Linked DNA regions of Homo sapiens: region 1 is linked to region 2. Evidence: promoter capture Hi-C in 16 types of primary human blood cells and fetal thymus (Javierre and others, 2016). All regions are on one chromosome and are shown on one strand. Each heading gives the region's core, a stretch centred on a gene start or on the middle of the fragment in contact. The rest is flanking DNA. Distances are from core to core; before and after follow the strand shown. Region 1 overlaps GAS7 (growth arrest specific 7). Region 2 holds the start of GAS7 (growth arrest specific 7).

Evidence for each region. The method cuts DNA at HindIII sites, captures the fragments that hold promoters and counts their contacts. A CHiCAGO score of 5 or more calls a contact.
Region 1: a fragment that was not itself captured here is called in contact with the fragment with the promoter of GAS7 in region 2 in 3 of 17 cell types (monocytes, neutrophils and M0 macrophages); the score reaches 10.6 in monocytes.

The regions. Positions count from the first base shown.
Region 1 is chr17:10,154,056-10,161,643 of GRCh38, forward strand. All of the region lies in intron 1 of GAS7 (growth arrest specific 7), which reads right to left. Among named protein-coding and RNA genes, the nearest start is that of GAS7, 41 kb to the right of the region's middle. RefSeq lists an enhancer at 3,104-3,323. The HindIII fragment of the contact is 9,434 bases long and covers 1-6,426 here.
Region 2 is chr17:10,195,959-10,203,284 of GRCh38, forward strand. GAS7 (growth arrest specific 7) reads right to left here and starts at 2,648. Exons shown (of 14, transcript NM_201433.2): 1 at 2,250-2,648. The coding sequence starts at 2,432. The HindIII fragment of the contact is 8,346 bases long and covers 1-3,637 here.

The sequences.
Region 1 (7,588 bases), core at 460-2,959, 43 kb before region 2:
AATAATTTCATCATGGGACATGGTAGAGAAAAGATAGAAAGGAAAGTAAAAATATGCTGAGACTCTTGCCTTTTTGGCAAATAGAATATAAATGCTGGTTAACTGTAGTCTTTGATTAAAATATATATTAAAATATACATATTAAAAATTCACACAGGCCAAACTGGGTCTGATGGCTCATGCCTGTAATCCAGACAGTTTGGGAGGCCGAGGCAGGAGGATCACTTGAGCTCAGGAGTTTAAGACCAGCCTGGGCAACATAGAGAGACCTTGTCTCTACAAGAAATAAAATTAAAAATTTAGCCAGGCATGGTAGCAAACATCTGTGGTCTCAGCTACTCAGGAGGCCAAGGTGGGAGGATTGCTTGAACCCAGGAGGTCGAGACTGCAGTTAGCAGTGATCATGCCACTGCACTCCAGCTTAGATGACAGGGTGAGGCCTTGTCTCAAGAAAAACAAAAAAAAAAAATTCACAGGCCAGGCATAGTGGCTGACGCTTGTAATCCCATCACTTTGGGAGGCTGAGGCCAGAGGATCACTTGAGGCCAGGAGTTTGAGACCAGCCAGGGCAGTATAGTGAGACTGCCGCCCAACCGCCCATCTCTATTTTTCAAAAAGAAAGAAAGAAAAACAGAGTGACTGAGCAGAGATTCAAAACTCAGTCCAAACCCACTGGTTTCCCTGTGCTCTTAACAACTGTATCATGCTGTCTATGGGTGATGCTCCCCAGCCAGCTAGAAAACACCTTCACTATAGGTGAAAAGTGGTGCTCACTGCACTGTGTTCAGGAAAAGTGTGTCCTGGAGAAACGCTTCATAAAGGTGGAGCTACCATTACCCCAATCCCCAACCCCAGGCTACACACACACACACACACACACACACACACACACACACACACAAAACCCATGTCCACAGTCTGCATGGGAACCTCCATCCCTAAATCCTACTAAACCAATAACTCTTTTTTTTTTTTTGAGACAAAGTCTCACTCTTGTCCCCCAGTCTGGAGTGCAGTGGCACGATCTCGGCTCACTGCGACCTCCGCCTCCCGGGTTCAAGCGATTCTCCTGTCTCAGCCTCCCGAGTACCTGGGATTACAGGTGCGTACCAACACACCCAGCTAATTTTTTGTATTTTAAGTAGAGATGGGGTTTCACCATGTTGGCCAGGCTGGTCTCGAACTCCTGACCTCAGGTGATCCACCCATCTCGGCCTCCCAAAGTGCTGGGATTACAGGTGTGAGCCACCGTGCCCGGCCACCAATAACTCTTTTTAAGACAAGAAATATTAAAGTAAAAACAATTCCTCTCCCTCCACTTCCCTTCTCCCAAGACTCTTCCTTCTGATAGCCATGTTTTCAGGCTCACCCCCAGCTCTGCCCTATTCAGAAACCAAAGGTCCTCATAAAAGTATTTGTAATAATGTGTGAATGACTCGTGAGCTTCAAATAACTGTCTCTGCAGCAAATGGCCAGCCTCCAAATAGAAGCTAGTTCAAGCCAGTTTCCTTGGCTCATTTCCCACCGCTATGTCAGGGATCAATTTAGACCATGGCCTCCCTCCCATTTTCTCTTCCCTGGCGGTACCATTCTTCTGGTCCTCCCACTCCCATCCCAAAACTGGTCCACTCAGTCCTCTCCTGTTCAGAGGCAGCCTTCATGACAGTGTCGGAGACCCTAAGGGTTAAATATACAGCAGTGGTTTAAAGTTTTACCTGTATTTACTCATTTGATCCTTAAAATAACCCTAAGAGACATGTATTATAATGGTCCTATTTCCAGATGAGAAATCTGAGATACAGAAAGGTTATGTAATCTGCCCAGGGACTCACAGCTAGTAAGTAGTACAGCTGGCATTGACACCCCGCACTCTCTGAACCACTATGCCACACAGGCATGGATGAGCAACCCTCACCAAGAGTCAGGTTCGAAGGGAATACATTCTCTTCCAACCATGCAACTGACTTCCTTACTTGTTCCATTGCCCCAGCCTAGAGACGAGATTCTCTAACTCCGACCTAGCTTCTTTCCCAACTCTGACTTTTTCTTCTTGCTCCACCCATCCTTAGCTCCGCCACAATGTCCCTCTCTTTCCATCACTTTTTTGGTCCTTGATAATATTTCCTTCGTAAGCAGATTTCTCCAAACCTCTACCCTGGGGAGCCCATTCTGGCATTCCACCTCCTAAACCCATGTTCCTGCAAAGTGTCTCTGTTGTCCTAGCCCTCCATGCCACAGCCATGGGTGCCCTTCGCCTGTTTCTTGACTCAAGCCAGGCAGGAGGAGGATCTTTATGAACAAGATCCCCCACCCCATATGTCTGCATTTAATTTCAGATCAGTTCCTAGGCCAAAGCTCTCTTCCAAACTCGTCAAGAGAAGTTTTAAATATATTCTCCCAGAGCAAATAATTTTGTGTTTTAACATGGGACAAAGCTCTAGAAACATCTCTGGGCTGGTGACTCTCCACTTGCCTGTCGGGAGCTAGCTTTGGCCCTTCTCCTGCAGCTCCTGCACCAGAAGGCTGACCCACAGGGACTCCAGGGACCCTCGCACCCTCTGGCTACAGTGAAAGACAATTTGGCCACTGAAAGTCATAGGTAGGAGATGAAGGTTCATGAGGAAAGCGAGGTTGGGGTATTTTCACCAGTTCCCTCCTAGCAGGCTGCAGGCTGCAGGCTGGGGTTGGGAGTAGCAGTGGCTTCTTTAGAGCAGTCGGCCCCCTCCTGCTGCAGGCCTCCCTCCCTTTTCCCCTCTCTGGGCGTGCTTCCCCATCCTCTACCCTGCTCAAGCCTCTATAAACAGCCCCTCCTTCAAACTCCCCACTGCCTTCCCAATCAAGATCCCCCTCCAGGCACCCTCAATAGTGGAGTTCAGACACAGCCACTGAGGACAAGCTCTCTGCAAGCCCTGGACACCAAAGTATTTTGGTGACCACTTCCTCCTAACCAGGCCTTGGTCGGTGGCTCCTTCACAAAATGACATCTGAGAAGAAACAGAAAGCCAAATGAGGATGTGGGTGGCCCTGCTCCTCCCCGGACACAGACCCATGCATCATGACAAGGCCACACATGCCCAGTCACAGGATTTGACACATGGGACCCCTGGGAGAAGGAGGAAACACCCACGGCTTACAAACCCGCAGCAAACCCAGAGTCCTCAGCCTAGGAAAGGGGCTGGGGACAGGGCCTGACACCCTGAAGTGCAAGGCCTGCCAACCTTGGAGCTGACGAGGGGAATAATTTTTTTAAAGATCCATTACTGTCAACTGCCCCCGGGAACACCCTTCTTTGCACCAACTCCCCTGCCTTTCAATATGAAGACAAGTCTGACGCCTACGTGGGGAACTCAAAGTCACACTTCCTCTGGCAGCCGTTGGTCAAACCGCTTTATAAATCTGCTAATGATTTTGTGTTATCCTGCTAGACTGACACTCGTTGGAAAAAAAAGTTACATAACTGGAAATGATTAGAAGATAAGGCTTTGAGCATCATGCTTGGAAATTTCACTGCTCTGCCCAATTTTGGGCTGAGTTTTAACAAACCAGCATTTCCTGGCTCCTGACACTGGGAAGCCTTGTAGGTGTGAGAATCTGCTTCCAGTTAATAGTAGACACTTTGGAACCAGGTTTGTCACATGAATATACCCTTGGTCCTCCCGTCAGTCAACTGGACTCTTCACCCTCCCCGCAAAAAATTTAAAAGCCACCCTTAGACATATCACCCTTAGGCATATCACCCTTAGACACACACAATTTCACACACATGTGAAACCCAGATGGCCAGTAAGCATATAGGTACTCGTAGGCTGGACATGGTGGTATCCACCTGCAGTCCCAGCTACTCTAGGAGGCTGGGATGGGAGGATTGCTTGAGCCCAGGAGATTGAGGTTCCAGTGAGCTATGATCGTACCACTGCGCTCCAGCCTAGGCAACAGAACAAAATCCTGTTATTTTATTTTATTTTTATTTTTTGAGACGGAGTCTCGCTCTGTCACCCAGGCTGGAGTGCAGCGGCACAATCTCGGCTCACTGCAAGCTCTGCCTCCCAGGTTGATGCCATCCTCCTGCCTCAGCCTCCCTAGTAGCTGGGTCTACAGGCGTCCGCCACCACACCTGGCTAATTTTTTTGTATTTTTTTAGTAGAGACGGGGTTTCACCGTGTTAGCCAGGATGGTCTCGATCTCCTGACCTTGTGATCCACCCACCTCGGCCTCCCAAAGCGCTGGGATTACAGGCGTGAGCCACCGCACCCGGCCAATCCTGTTTTTTCTTTTTTTGGTAAAAAAAAAAAAAAAAAAAAAAAACAAGGCCAGGTGCAGGGGGCTCGCATCTGTAATCCCAACACTTTGGGAGGCCGAGGTAGGAGAGTCACTTGAGGCCAGGAGTTCAAGACCAGCCTGGGTAACATAGCAAGATCCCACCTCTATAAAAAGAAAAATAAAAAAAGATATGTGCATTACACTGTATGTAAGTTAATGCTCTGTATACTGAACTCCTTAGAATGAAGTATACTGCTGTTCTCAACTTACTTTGAAATGTTTCCAAAAAAATACGATTGATGGAAGGATAGAAGGTTAGATATGCAATAAAACAAGTATAAGAAAATGTTAATGGCGGAATCTGATGATGGGTATATAAGTGTGCACTGTAATTCTTGCAACTCTTCAAATTTTTCATAATAAAATTCTGAAAAATTGCTAATTAAAAAGGTAAAGAGGCCAAGCACAGTGGGGCACACCTGTAATCTCAGCACCTTGGGAGGCCAAGGTGGGAGGATCATTTGAGCTGAGGAGTTCAAGATCAGCCTGGGCAACATGGTGAAACCTCATCTCTTCTAAAAAATACAAAATATTAGCTGGGCATGGTGGCATGCACATGTAGTCCCAGATACTCGGGAGGCTGAGGTGAGAGGATCATCACCTGAGCCCAGGAAGTGGAGGCTGCAGTGAGCCAAGATCACACCACTGCACTCCAGCGTGGACAACAGAGTGAGACACTGTCTCTAAAACATATATATATATATATATATATATATATATATTAAAGATAACACACACGCACAATGTGAGACCCCTACACGTTCACCCAAATGACTAAAATCTGTAAAACCAGCAATGGCACACACAGACAAGGATGTAGAACTATGAGAAGTCACAGACAGTGCCAGTGGGAGTGGAACACTATTTGGTAGTATTTCCCAAGAGTAAACATATGATACACATATTCTATGACCTAGCAATCCTACCCCTAGGTGAATACCCAACACAAATGAGAGCTTTCGTCCACCAAAAACATGTACGAGAATGTTCAAGGTAGCACTGTTCATAATAGTATGAAAGAACCCAAAGATCCAAGAGTAGGATAAATAATTGATGGTGTATTTATTCATAGGGTGACACACTACACAGCAATGAGAATGAACTACTGCCACCCATAATATAGGTGAATCTCACAAACAAGGTGTTAAGTGAGAAAAGCCAGATGCACCCCCCCCAACCTCCATCACCAAAAAGAATAACTTCTCTATGCTCAGTTTATGTAAAATTTAAAACCAAGCAAAATTATTACACAATCTAGAAGTCAAGATCGGGGTCACCTTTGGAAGAGAGTACTGACTTGGAGAGAAGGTTTCTTAGGTCCTGGGTAAGTTCCGTGTCTGACGTAGATGCTCATTACAAGAGTGTTCCCAGTTTATGAAAACGCATCAAACTATACACATGAAGTGTGACCTTTTTTTTTTTTTTTTTGAGACAGTGTCTCACTCTGTCGCCCAGGCTGAAGTGCAGTGGCACGATCTTGGCTCCCTGCAACCTCTGCCTCCCAGGCTCAAGTGATCCTCCCACCTCAGTCTCCTGAGTAGCTGGGACTACAGGTGCATGCCACCACACCTAGCTAATTTTTTTGTAGAGACAGGGTTTCCCCATATTGCCCAGGCTGGTCTTGAACTCCTGAGCTCAAGTAATCCAACCACCTCAGCCTCCTGAGTAGCTGGCACTACAGGTGCGTGCCACCACACCTAGCTAATTTCTTGTAGGGACAGGGTTTCCCCATATTGCCCAGGCTGGTCTTGAACTCCTGAGCTCAAGCGATCCACCCACCTCAGCCTCCCAAGGTGCTGGGATTACAGGCATGAGCGACCCTGTCTGGCCAGGTATGACCGTTCTTCTGTATGTAGGTTACACTTCAACTTAAAAAATTTACACTAAAAATTGTATTAAAAAAAAAGGTGGATCTTCAAGCAATTCGTAGAGATCTAGGGGGTATTTTTAATTGTTTCTCTTTGATTTTGTCCCTATTTCTACTGCCCATTTAAAACACAGATATTAAATAAAACAGTTACAGGACCATATAGAGCTAAAAGCGACTTCGAAGATCACCTAGTTTAATTCCTCTGTTTTACAGATGTTGAGAGCTGAGGCTGAGAAAGCTTAAGAGACTTGCCCAGGTTACCTAGCCAGGAAGAAGAAAGGCACCTAGAGCCTGTGAATCCCAGCTCCCTGTCTAGTGGTCTCTCCACGGCATACCAAACCTCTGTAATCTCACCATGACTGCCTGGGCTCACCCTTGCCACCAGGCAGATCACATCACAGGTGCGCAATATGACATTTTCCTCTAACTATAATATAGAAAGTTAAGGAAGTATGTGCTTTGCTTGTCGTTTATTTCAGGGATGGGTCTCACTATGTTGCCTAGGCTGAATAGCAGTGGCTTCACACAGGCAAAATCATAAAACACTAAAACCTCAAACTCCTGGCCTCAAGCAATCCTCCTACCTCAGCCTCCCAAGTAGCGGGAACTGCTGGCATGAGCCACCACACCTGGTCATAATATGGCTGTTTTTGACAGGATGCAGTAAGTTGGAAGCCATAGAAATTGAAACCATACACACACACACACACACACACACACACACACACACACAGACGAAGGCATGGCAGTATTTATTGGCTCATATAACTTGGAAGTTCAAGAGTGTCTGGCCTTCAGTTGCAGATGGATCCAAGCACTTGAACAAGGGTCGCGGCTCCGTTTTGTTTGTTTGTTTGCGGTTTTTGTTTGTTTTTTGCTAGCTTCATTCTCAGGTGCTTCCCAAGTATTACCAAAGATGGTCATGGCAGCTCCAAGTTTATAATCTTCCTAGCTTTAACAACCCCAGGGGAAGAAAGCATTTCTTTGCCAAACTATACAGCAAAAGGTCCTAGGGAGGGAAGAAGCTCATGAACCCAGCTTGGGTGACATGTCCATTTCTGGTTCACTGTAGTGAGAGGGATTTAGGAGAGGCCTGGTTCTAACCAAACTCAAACCAGCTCCAACCAATAGTTCACTCATTTTCCAATGAACCCACTGCATCTGTGGTTCCCCAAAGAAAAATGGAAGTGTCGTTACCAGAAGAAGGAGAATCAGAGACAACAGACCACAAATATCCACTACAGTAGGTGCCATCTTGTCCTCTGACTCGAGCACTGTAACAGGATTTTACCATGTCAACGGGAAAGGAAGGTCGCAGACTTTGAACTTGAGCTTCCTGCAGACTCACATTCCCACACATTTCAGCTGACTGCTCAACAGTTAATCTTGACAGATCTC
Region 2 (7,326 bases), core at 1,398-3,897:
CCACTGTGGGAAGACCCCCAGCTGGTTCTGAGTAAAGTCACACTTTGGGGTTAGCAGGGAAGATCCTCCAAGTTGCTCCTGGATGCAGCTGTCCTCGTTTTAGCCCTAGAGGTTCAGCCTCCCCTTCGCGGTGCTGTCACCAACATGCTGACCTCAGGGGCTGCGCATGCCCCTTTTCCCCATGGATCCAGACCCTTCGCTCACACGCTGTTTGGCATAGTTGAGCCCGGGCTATCATGTTTAAAAAAGGCACAGGCGCAGGGGGTGATACTCAGTCATCTGAGCTGCTAACAAAACACGCAAGCATTACTAGTTGGGGAGCTGACTTCGCCTCTCTCATATTCAGCTTGCTTGTCTATAAAATGGGGGAAGTACCTCACCCTTCACAGAGCTGTCAGGGAACTGGTGATAACGTGCACACACTGTGCCAAGCAGGTGCTCAGAAGTATTGCTCACGCAGATGGATGCTTCTGTTGCAAGTTACTAGTCAGGAATGGTCTGAGAGGCCCTGAGACACCAGAGATCTCTTACCTTTGTATATGCCAGAGGATGGGACAGACACACCCAAAACTGTCCCAGTTGTTAATTCCGCTTGTCCCCTGGCCCTGGTCCATCGTCCCTTTCCCGGAAGAAAAAGCAGCACTCCACTCTTGCTAACTAACACCTACCCAGCCTCACCCCTACACAAAACACAGCTGGCTCAGTCCAGCCAGGGATGCTCCTCACCGGACAGACATCCATCAGCCAAATTTCCACATCAGAATTTCCTGGAAAAGGGTGACCACCCGAAGAACTCCCAAAATACGTATCTATCCCAGGGCTTCAAGCTAGAAACAAGGAGGCCCCTTGCTTCTCATGTAAGAAGCAATACGTTCGCTTTCTTTTACATCCGAATCTCGGGAAAGGAACTGGAAAAGCCAGGGCAGGGCACACCTGAGCCTCTCCTACAAGTAGGGTATCTCCGGATTCTCCAGATACAGAACCAAGAGGGTTCCTGCAACATACTCTGCTGACAGCCCATGAAAGCTCATTCCAGCAGCCCCTAAACTTTGCTCAAATGCTACTGATGCCTTTAGGAGAGATTTTGTTGTTCTCTGGACCTGAAAGCAATCTAATGTACTTTTATAAGGCCAGGCTCTTGCTGACAATGTTGCCACAGGATACATCCTCAGGCGGACTCACCCTGTAACCATTTCACTTCTTTCTTTCTTCCCCCCGCCCCCGATGAATTGCACTGAGCATTCTCAGTCAAAATTTGCTACTTTCTCTGTGAAGTAGGTCAAGAGTTAAATAATAAATAAATTCAGCCTCCATGATTTCTTCCGGCAGTGTTTTACCAGAATGTTTAGGAATACTGACACCATTGAAGGTAACTGTTAATTTAGTCTTTACAAGAATCCTGGGGGCAGGCGGGCTTCTAGTAAAGGGGATGTCCTGGAAGGTCACCCCCCCACACACAAAGGACTTTAGAAACTTCGGGTCTCACTCAGGCTGTGACTGCGAGCTCAGTGATTAGAGGACAGCCTGTCACATAGACAATAAACAGCCAGCCGCCTTGCCTCAGCAGGTCCTGTGCAGCCCTGGGGCCAGGCCAGAACCCCAGGAACAAGCCACTTTCGGGTTCTGAGCCTTAGCCTCGGGGAGCTGGACCAGGGGAGCAGGCAGTGGCGGGGGGTGCTACGGCACCCCAGGATCAAGCCTGCTGAGGGGGCTCGGGCTGGTGGCCAGCAGGCTCGGCTGACCAGCAAGTGGGTGGTCCCGAGGCGGCCAGGCAGCCTGACCCAAGGCAGCACGACCGTCCACGGGTCATCAGGCTCTAGACTCCGGGGTGGAGACGCGGGGCTGCGGGACCGAGTCGGTGCCACTTTCTCGCACCCCTGATCCTCCGTGCCTCTTCCCAAGACCGCCAGACCCTTCACCGGCCCCTGCCACTGCCGGGAACGCTCCCGCCTGCTCCTTAACTCACACAGGCAACAAGTTCTCGCTTCCTCAGAGCAGCCACGGTGTGCTCCGGAGGCCCGGCGCAAGGTGGAAGCTCCCCGCGAGTCCGCGTTGCCCACGCCCCGAGGGGCGCCCGCTGCCGTCGCTGCCCCCCAGGAGCGTGGAGCTACAGGTAGCGCCGGCAAGGGCTGCCCCCCGGGGCGCCCCTCCGACCGGGACGCTGCGGCATCCCCGGAACGGGCAACAGGTACGCGAGCGCACCGAGGACCGCAGCCCCGGCTCCTACAGCCCCGGCCCTCGCCCCTTACCTCCAGCAACTGCACGTAGCTCGCCGGGAACCAGCCACGGAGCCCGTCCTCCTTCTCGCCTTCCCACCAGCCGCCGTCCGGGACCTGCAGCAGCGTGATCAGCTCGCCCGCGGCGAAGCGCAGCCCCTGGCCGTGCCGCTCCCCGGAGAAGGGGTACAGGGTCCGGCAGCGAGCGCCGGACATGGCCTTGGCGCCCGGGTTCACAGCGCAGCCTGCATTCCCGCCGAGCCCCACGGGCTGGGCAGCGGCTCCGCGGGGTCCCAGGCGCCCGGCGCTCCGGGCTCCCGCGCTCTGGGCGCGCGCCGTCTCTGGGGTGCGCGGGGGTCCTCAGGCAGGCGGGGGACGCGCGCTCCGCGCCGGGAAGCAGAGACTCGTTGGCTTCGCAGAGCGAGCGGCGACGCCCCCGGGCCGGGCAGCTCGCGGATCCTAGCTCTGGGCTGGGGGGCGGGGCTCAGGGGGAGGAGACCCAGGCGCCGCGGGCTCCGGAGACAACTTCCCGGGAACGCGGAACGCGGGCTGCCGCCGCGAGGGCTGGCCGGGGCCGGGGCCGGGACCGGGGCCGGGGCCGCCCTGGCGCGCGGAAATGCGCAGCTCCCCCGGGAGGTGGGACCCGGAGCATCCCCCGCGGCAGGACTCCGCGGCGGGCGGCCGTGGAGAGGAGCTGGCGGCCGGGTGGCCGGGCGGGGGTTAGCTCACTGGCGAGGGGGCGGGCCGGGGCGGGGCCAGGGCGGCCACGCCCGCGGAGGGCTGCGCGCTCCCTCGCAGAGGGGCCTGTCACTGGGGAGAGGGGCTCCCACTCGCGCCCCCACCGCCGGGGACCGCGGGAATGGAAACGCCCCTCTGTTCTGTGCCTGCTTTGTAGGCCTGGCGGCCCGTGGCGTGCGGGCGGCTTCTTCGAGGTGTCTGCGAGGGATCGTTTGTGGTTGTCATTGTAGTGGTTGAACCTGGGGTTGAACTTGTCTCACCGGAAACTGAACAATGGGTGAAAGACAGGTTTGAAGCCTGGCGCCTGAGCCCAGCAGCCTGGTGGCAGCGTGGCACGCTGGAGGGACGGAATGGAGAGAAGACGGGGTCGGAGTTGATAGAATTGGAAACAGTCGATGGGGATAAATGGAGGAAAGGCGAACGGTGAGAGGAACAGCACCAATGCTTTTACTTGCAGAGGGAAGGCCGGCCCAGGGTACCAGCCCTCCCGAAATCGAGATGGGTTGGCTAAAGAGTCTACACTCATGTAGTCAGTCAACAAACATTACCAGGAGGCTGCCATGTTCCATGCGATGTGCCAGGTACTACAAACATCATTTGGGCCAGTCCCTGCTCTCCAGGGACCAGTGAACCTGAGTGCTGCAGAATGTTGACCTTGAACTGACCGTACAGAAGTAAAAGAAAGCTTGGTTTCTTTGCTAGTCTACTCCATAAAAAATTTTAAAGAAATAAAATAAAGTACATTTTTTAGCCTGTAAATAGCTGGACTCGGCCAGGCGCGGTGGCTCACGCCTGTAATCCCAGCACTTTGGGAGGCTGAGGCGAATGGCTCACTTGAGGTCAGGAGTTCAAGACCAGCCTGGCCAACAAGGTGAAACCCCATCTCCACTAAAAATACAAAAATTAGCCGGGCGTGGTGGCGGGTGCCTGTAATCCCAGCTACTCAGGAGGCTGAGGCAGGAGAATGGCTTGAACCCGGGAGGTGGAAGTTGCAGTGGGCGGAGATCATACCACTGCATTCCAGCCTGGGTAACAAGGGTGAAACTCCGTCTCAAAAAAAAAAAAAGCTGGACCCTTTAATACGCCTGTATACCTCTGTCTACTCCTTCCCCCCTCCCCCAGTCACCTTCTGTGGCTCCCTATTGCCTTTTAAATTTGGTACAAACTTCTCTGCCTGTACATTTCAGGCCCTCCACAACGCCTCCTCTAGCTTCACCTCTTACTATGACTGCCTAGATATCCATTACAAAACCAGTCAGGCCGGGCTCCAAGAGCCTGAAGATCTTGCGCACCTGTCTATGCTTTGAATCAGACCCTGGCACAGAGCCTTTCACCTAGTTCAATGGTTCTCAATCCTGGCTGCACATTACAGTCATTATGCAACTTTTTAAAAATACTCATGCCCAGGTTTTAAGAGTCACTACTGAGCCCTAGTCTGCAGCTAAGCCATCTCACCTGAGCAGCCTCCATCTGTTCTCTGGCCATGGGCAAAGTGACACAAGCAGATTATTTGTAATAGTCCATCAATTGCAAAGTCTTGAACATTCGCTTGGCCGGAAATATAAAGAAACAAACTCTTGACCACAGTCACCACTAAGAGTCCCTTAAAGCGGAGCTGCATAACTTCATATCAAAAACAGTCATTAAAAATAGCTGGCCCAATGAAGTTTTAAAAGAGATACAATTCCTTGTATCAGGAAAATATGTGACTTCCAGCAGGCTGTTCTGAGGCTTCATTCCTGATGATGTGGCCTGAATCAAGGTAGGACAACTGATTTCCAGCCATCCTGCAACCCTAATTCTCTGCATGCCCGTGAGGAACTGTGATCCAGTTTGGACTTGAGAAATCGCAGCCTACACAGCATGCCATACACTTGAGTTCTACCTGACCCACCTCAAACATTCCTGCAGCAACCAAAAATGATAATAGCTGTTAATTTCTCCACTTAATTCATTTCATTCCTGTAATCCTACGAGCTGATGAGGTGACTGTTGTCCCAGTTTTCAGGTAAAGAAACTGGGCTCAAAGAGTGTGACTTGCTCACCATCATACAGCTGGTCAACAGCAGAATCAGCTTTGAACTCAATTCTAGCTTATTGTACACTGGTGTTGCTTTCTGTCGTCCCCCCTGCCAGTCAGAAAGCAGGTATCCTAGTGACTCACCCACAAATAGCATCTTAAGAGAAAGTTCTCTAGGCTGGGCACAGCCTGTGAGAGCTTATGCCTGTAATCCCCACACTTTGGGAGGCCAAGGCGGGCGGATCACGAGGCCAGCAGATTGAGACCAGTCTGGCCAACATGGTGAAACCCCATCTTTACTAAAAATACAAAAATTAGCTAGGTGTGGTGCCGCGTGCCTGTAATCCCAGCTACTCAGGAGGCTGAGGCAGGAGAATCGCTTGAACCTGGAAGGTGGAGGTTGCAGTGAGCCGAGATCACGCCACTGTACTCCAGCCTGGCGACAGAGCAAGACTCCATCTCAGAAAAAAGAAAAGAAAAGAAAAGAAAAGACTCTCTGGTGATACCCAATGTCAGTCTTCATAGAAATAAGACTGGACTAGCAGTTAGTGGAACTCCTGTTGCTGATCTCTTATCAATCAGGTAACCTCCAAATCCTCAAGTCTTCCCATACCTTTGGGTCTATTTCCCCGTCTGTAATTGGAGATCGAATCCAGTAACTGGAATATGGGAATTTAAATGGTTAAATGTAGTTAGTGGTTAAATATGTTGGCTCTGGACTGCCTTTATTCAAACCCCATTTCTGCCACTTTCTAGCTGTGTGGCATTGGGTGATTTACTTACGTCTCTGAGCGTCATTTTCCTCATCACTACAAGAAGACAACAGTAGTATTAATATCATAGAGTTATTAAGAAGATTAAGTGAGGAAGCATGTAAACTGTTTAGAGCAGTGCCTGGCACATTAAATGCCCCTATGTTAGCGATTGTTTTTATCTATCCAGTTCAAGGGTCCTGGTGATTTATTACGTAACACTTCTTTTTTAACTAAGATTTCTAGAGCAACAATAGAAGGAGGAACTCTTACATCTTTGGGATGCCACAAATTTTGTAGAAACACACTTTGGCTTTCTGTTTTCTCCCAGGATCTTGAAGGAAAGATAAATTCCTCCCTTATCAATTTTCCCTCCTGCCTTCTCCCTCTCTGATTTATATTACTATCTTGAAATTGTATTTAAATCTTTAATTATTTTTGCTTTTTTTTTTTTTAAATTGAGACAAGATCTGGCTGTATTGCCCAGACTGGAGTGCAATGGTGTGATCTTGGCTCACTGCATCCTCTGCCTCGCGTCTCAAGCCATCCTCCCACCTCAGCCTCCAGAGAAGCTAGCTGGGACTACAGGTGCACACCACCATGCCTGGCTAATTTATTTTTGCTTTTTTTTTTTTTTTTTTTTTGAGATGGAGTCTCGCTCTGTAGCCAGGCTGGACTGCAGTGGCACTATCTCGGCTCACTGCAAGCTCCGCCTCCTGGGTTCATGCCATTCTCCCGCCTCAGCCTCCCAAGTAGCTGGGACTACAGGCGCCTGCCACCACGCCCGGCTAATTTTTTGTATTTTTAGTAGAGACGGGGTCTCACCGTGTTAGCCAGGCAGGTGTCAATCTCCTGACCTCGTGATCTGCCCGCCTCGGCCTCCCAAAGTGCTGAGATTACAGGCGTGAGCCACCACACCTAGCCTACTTTTGCTTTTTAAAAAAATAATAATTATTATTAAGTCTTATTTTACTGGTTAGACTGTTAGTAACTCAGGAGAGGGATAGCATCTTTGTTTTAAATTTCCATCTATCTTTTTTTTTTTTAGACTGAGTTTTACTCTTGTCACCCAGGCTGCAGTGCAATGGCATGATTTTGGCTCACTGCAACCTCCACCTCCGAAGTTCAAGTGATTCTCCTGCCTCAGCCTCCTGAGTGGCTGGGATTACAGGCATGCGCCTCCACGCCCGGCTAATGTTGTATTTTTAGTAGAGATGGGGTTTCGCCCTGTTGGCCAGGCTGGTCTCGAACTCCTAACCTCAGGTGATCCACCCACCTCTGCCTACCAAAGTGCTGGGATTACAGGCATGAGCCACCATGCCTAGCCTATCTATCCTTCTTAAAGCCTAACGTTGACTCATACAAAAAGCAGGCATTCAGTACTTCTTGATCTTTTGCATAGATTGTTTGGACCCTGTTCATATTTAGATTTTCTACTTGCTAAGTTGTTGTATAAACCTGTGTCAGAGCTTTCTCTAGACACTGTGCATTTGTTAGTTATGTGGTGGCTGGTATTTCATTTCTACCCAAGACAACCTTATACACCTTTCTATCAGCCTATGGATGGCAGAGAAATGGAAAGGTTTCCATTTCTTTACAA